2 separate regions of the Homo sapiens genome follow, and region 1 is linked to region 2. Evidence: promoter capture Hi-C in human tissues and cell types (Jung and others, 2019). All regions are on one chromosome and are shown on one strand. Each heading gives the region's core, a stretch centred on a gene start or on the middle of the fragment in contact. The rest is flanking DNA. Distances are from core to core; before and after follow the strand shown.

Region 1 (2,960 bases), core at 211-2,710, 55 kb after region 2:
ATTAGGTTACTGATTTGGAGTCTTTTTTAAAAAAATAAGCATTTAGAGCTATAAATTTCCTTCTAAGCACTGTTTTAGCTGCATCCTATACATTTTAGTACGTCGTGTTTTCATTTTCACTCATCTCAAAGCATTTTCTAGCTTTCCTAGTGATTTATTCTGTGACTTGCTTGCTTATTAGGAGCTTGTAGTTTAATTTCCACATATTTGTGAATTTCTCAAATTTCCCTTTGTTTTTGATTTCAGAGAACATACACTGTATGATTTCAATCTTTTTAAATTTATTGAGGCTTGTTTTATGACCTAAGATATGGTCTATCCTGGAGAATATTCTATGTATCCTTAAGAAGAAAATCGTTCTGTTGTTGTTGAAAGAATGTCCTGTAGATGTGTGTTGTGTCTAGTCGGTTTCTGCTGCCTCTCTTAAAGTAGAAGCAGGGTAGTCAGTTCATGTTATACCCTAATATTCCACTTCTATTCAGTCTTCCCTCTGAGGTCAAGAAGCTAGTATGCCTCAATTATCATCATCATCATCATTATCATCAGTCAATACTTACATAGCACATCCAGGCACTCTTCTAAGCACTTTCCATAAAATCACTCATTTAATCTCACCACATGCTCACCTTTGTACCCCAAGCAGCTGTTCCTCACTATACGTGGAGTTCCCCTCACCCTGCCGGGTCTGAGTCCACTCATTCTCAGACTTCTTTTCCTTTTGTGCCTTCATGCAGTTACAGCAGCCACAGGGGTCATGACTCTCAGGAGGTGTGTCTTCTGGGTATTTGTTTCTTCTAACTGCGTCAATGTAAGCTGCAAACAACAGCCCCTCCATTAGGTCTCCATCTGACCCTGAAAATCAACTTTGCAACCTGCCTTTCCTCTCTGGGAGGCTGCTCGTAAGCATGAGAAGGTAAGCATGATGGCCAGGGCTAGAGGCGTCATGCTGACTTTTAAGCACTCATACAAAGCTGAATAAACATGTTTCTCTGTGGTCCGTGGTCAGAAGAGACACTGCTCGTAAAATAGTATTTTTTGTTGCAGTGCCTCCCACCCCTAAAATTTAAAGTAGAGAGGAGTTCAATTCTTTTACACTAACAATTATAGAACTAATATATACCAAGGAACTTGGCTAGAAGATCAAGAGGGCGGATGGGTAAGATCTACTCCTGACCACAAAGAGGTTAGTTTAATGCAAGCTTGTCCAACCCGCGGCCCACAGGTGGCATGTGGCCCAGCACGGCTTTGAGCTCAATACAAATTCGTAAACTTTCTTAGAACATTATGAGGGCCGGGCGCGGTGGCTCACGCCTGTAATCCCAGCACTTTGGGAGGCCAAGGCGGGCGGATCACGAGGTCAGGAGATCGAGACCATCCTGGCTAACACCGTGAAACTCCGTCTCTACTAAAAATACAACAAATTAGCCGGGCGTGGTGGCAGGCGCCTGTAGTCCCAGCTACTCGGGAGGCTGAGGCAGGAGAATGGCGTGAACCCGGGAGGCGGAGGTTGCAGTGAGCCGAGATCGCGCTACTGCACTCCAGCCTGGGTGATAGAGCGAGACTCCGTCTCAAAAAAAAAAAAAAGAACATTATGAGATTTTTTTTTGCAATTTTTTTAAAGTTCATTAGCTGTCATCAGTTAGTTATTTAGTCGTCAGTTAGTGTATTTTATGTGTGGCCCAAGACAATTCTTCTTCCAATGTGGTCCAGGGAAGCCAAAAGATTGGATACCCCTGGTTTAAAGGGAGAAGATTCAATAACAACACCTGCAGAATGTAAAGAGGGTCATAAGCAATACAGTCAAAAGGGGCAGAGCACTCATGTCTTCTCTGGAGGACCTGAGAAAGGCTTTAACAACATCTTTCTTCCGCTTAACATCCCTCAGCTACCTCCACCCACTGCTCCTGGACAGTCTTCCTCTAAGTCGGCCTGGCTAACTCCGACGCATCCTTCTTGTCACCATTTGTAACACTTTCTGCAAGAAACCTCCCTTGACAGCCAGTCTGCGTTAGGTACCTTGTAAGTGTGCTCTCCAAATCCCTGACCTTGCTGTGTAGCCCAGGCGTTTTGTATTATTCGCCCGTTTTGTAATTGGCTGTTCAGTCGTCAAACTCTCTCAGTGGGCTGCGAGTTTTGTGAGCTAAGGGACCCATGTCAGTCAAATCCCCACTGCAGAATCAGCATTAGGCGGGGCACACAATAGGTATTGGATCAATATTTTTTGCCTGACTGTAGGGTGGAAAAGGCTGGTCCTGATGCCGGCTGGAGCGACATGATCAAACAGGGACTGAAGGTCAGGTGGCCCAGTTAGGCGAAAGATAAGGGCCAGGTTAGCAAGCTGCGGAGAGACCGCAGCACCCCACGGGCCCTCCAGTCACCTTGGCATGGGCGGGGCCTGACAGCTGCGGGCCCTGGGCGGGGCACGGGCGGGGGCGGGGCTGGGGGCCGGAGGCAACAAGTCGTCACCGGTGACTCTGGGCTCGCGGTCGGTCCCCAGCTTCCCTACCCCATCCGCAACCCTACTCAGGCTCAGCATCTTTTCACAGGCCTCTATCCATCACCTCAGACCCAGGATCTCAGCCCTTGTGCGTCTTCAGGATCCTCATCCCTGATCTCTCCCGAAGGCCGCCCTATCCCTCCTTCAGGCGGGGACCTAGTACCTTCCGTCCAGCGCTCCCCGCTGCCCAGAGTCGCCGCCATATCGGTTCCCAATCAGCAGGTCCGCCGAGCCTCCCCCGTGCCCGAGGCTGAAAGAGAAGGGGGCGCGGAGCGCGGGGCACGCTGGTCATTGTAGTCCAGTCCATATGAGCTCCCGGGGCACTGGACTACAACTCCCGGCAGGCTCTGCGCCAGAGGCCGTGGGAGACGCAGAGAAGTGCTCGACCTTCGTCAGGAGATCTGTGGAAGAGTGCTGCTGCCAGCTGCCAGCTGCCTGCAGCACGGCTCTTGGCTTTTCCTCA
Region 2 (2,896 bases), core at 202-2,701:
CAGTGGAGGGGTGGCGGGGGACGGGTTGGGGGGCTGGGCGGCTCACCGGATGCCCACGGTGGTCTGGATGAGAGTGGTGATGCCCACGCACGTGAAGATGGTGCCGATGAGCTGACTAACCATGTGCTGGTCGTGGCCCACACACAGCGCCTCAGCCAGCAGGAAGGGCACGGCGATGGTACCACTGAAGCATGTCAGGTAGTGCTGGGCAGAGGGAGACAGCAGAGTGCATGAGGCAGGACCCCAGAGCTCCAGGGAGAGGGGACAACCTAGTGTCCTCATGCCTGCCTCAGCGGGCCTGGAACCGGCTGCCTGCCCAGGACTGGCAGTCCCCACAAGGGATTCCCAGAGAGCTACTGCTGACCACTCTGGGGGTCACTAATTTCCACTCAAGATATTCCTGCGGCTTCCGTGGAGTCGGCTCTGCTCCCTGTCACCAACACCCCACCTGGCAAGCGTCACACTCCCCCAGGGAGTTCATCTTCTTTCAGGATTCAGCCTCTTCCCGACTCCTGCTTGCTGACAGCCACTGTGCTGACCTCAGGTTTTTCTTCCTGTTACCCAAGATACTCCCTGCTGGCCAGGGAGGGGCTGGAGTCCCCGGGGAGTGTGCAGAGTGAGGGCGGGGAGGCCCTGGGGGACCCACCTGGAAGCCCAGCAGGATGCACAGGTACCAAGGTGGCACGTCCTCGATCTTGTACAACATGTCAAACTTAGGCTCTGTGGGTAGCGGGGTCGAGGGGTCCCTGGTGGTTTCATGCTGGAGGCAGCAGAGATAAGTAGCTTAGGGTGAAGTGATGGGGACAGGCAAAATCCATTCTGCCCCAGAATCAATCAGGCAGCCCAAGTGGCTTGTCAGCAACTGAGAGCGGGGTTCCCGCCCTCCCCAACAGTCCATCCACCCGGGTGCCACTTGGCCTGGCCACAGTTTTCTCCCACTTTGCATTGCTTCCCGCAGGGATGAGTCTACTGTGCCAGCTTCTAGAGCCCTCAGGACCTGCCATTTTAGCCAGGGAAGTGGACCCTTAAGTCAGAAGTCTTGGAGACCACAGGAGAGGGGGCCAAGAGGGCTCAAGACTGTGGACAAGTCCAATCCGGTCCCACCTCTGCCCCCTGGAGATCCTTGGGGTGTCACTGGCCGGGAGATTAGGCCTCTCCTGAACCCCAACCTGGAGTCAGCCAGTCCCAAAGCTGCAGGCTCCTTCACCCCCACCTCCACCCATCCCCCAGTTGCCACATTCAATTTGGGACAGTCACTCTTATCAAGTTCATCAGAACGTTTATCTCTGGCCTCCAGGAAGAAGGCCTGCACAGGCCCTCCAGCCCCCCACCCCCCCTGCCCCCCCTAGCCCCCACCCCCAGCCCCCAGCACCTGTGTCCGGCCCTCGAGGTCCTCCTGGGCCCTCATCTTTGGGGCACAGGTTTGAGCAGTTCCTGAGGAGAAGAGGGGATGACTTGACAAAGGCCAAGGAGGAGGACTTTACTCCACATATCAGGCATTGTTTGAAGTAAATCTGTAACCAGATGCCCAGCTCTGGATTGCGAAAGGGGGGCCCGGGCAGAGGTAATGTATTAACTCTCACTAGGACAGTAAAAGCCACCCAAGCCTCTGCCACATGTGCCCTTCCCTGCCCACATCTGCGCCTGGGCGCTGGACCTGTTCTTGTTTCCCAAGAGAGGGCCAGAGTCGAGGGGGTGAGGACCAGAAGTTTACCAAGCCCCAGGTGAGCGGAGAAAGAGGGAGTGGAAACAGGCACTTATTATGTAACCCCCTGTATGAGGCCCTTCCCCACTGATTAATAACTAGTTCATCATTATCATCATCATCATAGTCATTCTCGTTATTGAGGAATGGCCTTGGCCTTGTGCCAAGAAACATGGATCTGCACTGTCCCAAGTAACCCCTGTGCTGGGCGGTATTAACCCCTTTAACAGCGAAGGAAACAGATTCAGTAGATGTGATTTGACCCAAGCCATGCAGATAGCAAGTTTGCAGAAACCAATCCTAAAATTCAGGTTGGTCTGAGCTGCCTTGCCCTCACCACCCTGCACCCCTCAGGGTCCCTGAGGCAGGCAGCAGATGGGCCTCTGCAGGCAGAGCTGCCTAGGCTGGCCCAGCCGGGTCTGCACTCTGTGTCAGGGCACAGATCCCTTTCCCCTCCCAGCCACATAATTTCTGGGACCCAGTGCAAAGTAAGAATGTGAGGCCTTTATTCCAAAAGTATAAAGAATTTAAAGATAGCAGGAGCATTAGATGGAGCGTGGGGCCTTTCTATGCACCAAGCCCTGTGTGACTGCCCATCACCTAGCCCAGGAAGGCAGTCCTATGCCCAGCCTGTCTCCCCTCCTGGCAGGCCCAGCCCAGCCTGGCCCTAGGGCCTGAGATGGCAGAGGGGGACATGGGGAGGGGCCCTAAGAACTCAGGCTCCTCAGCTGGTGAGGGCTGGGCCTGAGGTCCCCATTCTGTTCCCCTCTGGGCTGCCCCAGCCCCAGCACTCTAGAGCCCACCTACTTCTGGGTCGCTGTGCCCATGGCCAGGCCCTGCCTGAAGGGCCAAGGGGCAGCACCGCTCTCCAGCTGGGCAGCAGCTTCATGCCACAGCACTGAGTCCGCCCGCCTGCCGGTGTCCACACTGTTCCTCTGTCCGCCTGTCCTCTCCTCTCCCTCTTGGCTACTGCTCCCAATTTCCAAAGTTGCTGGACCAGTTTGAAGCCTCTGCAACTCCCCAGCACTTTTCTCTCCAACTTCTCCTCCCAGAACTCCCCAGGGTGCTGTGGAGACCAAGCCCGACCCCCTGCAGATACGGCTCCATGGACACTCAATTCAACCCAAACCACACAACACGCATAGAGAACAAGGTGGAGAACACGGTCCCAGATCCACAGTAGCATGAAGG

Evidence for each region. The method cuts DNA at HindIII sites, captures the fragments that hold promoters and counts their contacts. A contact is called where the count stands out against the background at its distance.
Region 1: a fragment that was not itself captured here is called in contact with the fragment with the promoter of SLC23A1 in region 2 in 1 of the 25 tissues and cell types used here (adrenal gland).

What each region holds. Positions count from the first base shown.
Region 1 is chr5:139,436,746-139,439,705 of GRCh38, forward strand. It overlaps DNAJC18 (DnaJ heat shock protein family (Hsp40) member C18), which reads right to left and starts at 2,780. Exons shown (of 8, transcript NM_152686.4): 1 at 2,661-2,780; 2 at 627-813. The coding sequence starts at 2,700. RefSeq lists enhancers at 850-1,350, 2,651-2,960 and a silencer at 2,338-2,447. The HindIII fragment of the contact is 5,325 bases long and covers 1-2,960 here.
Region 2 is chr5:139,381,846-139,384,741 of GRCh38, forward strand. SLC23A1 (solute carrier family 23 member 1) reads right to left here and starts at 1,452. Exons shown (of 15, transcript NM_005847.5): 1 at 1,373-1,452; 2 at 647-760; 3 at 47-204. The coding sequence starts at 1,408. RefSeq lists enhancers at 413-462, 2,063-2,132, 2,153-2,322, 2,703-2,872 and a silencer at 753-812. The HindIII fragment of the contact is 7,898 bases long and covers 339-2,896 here.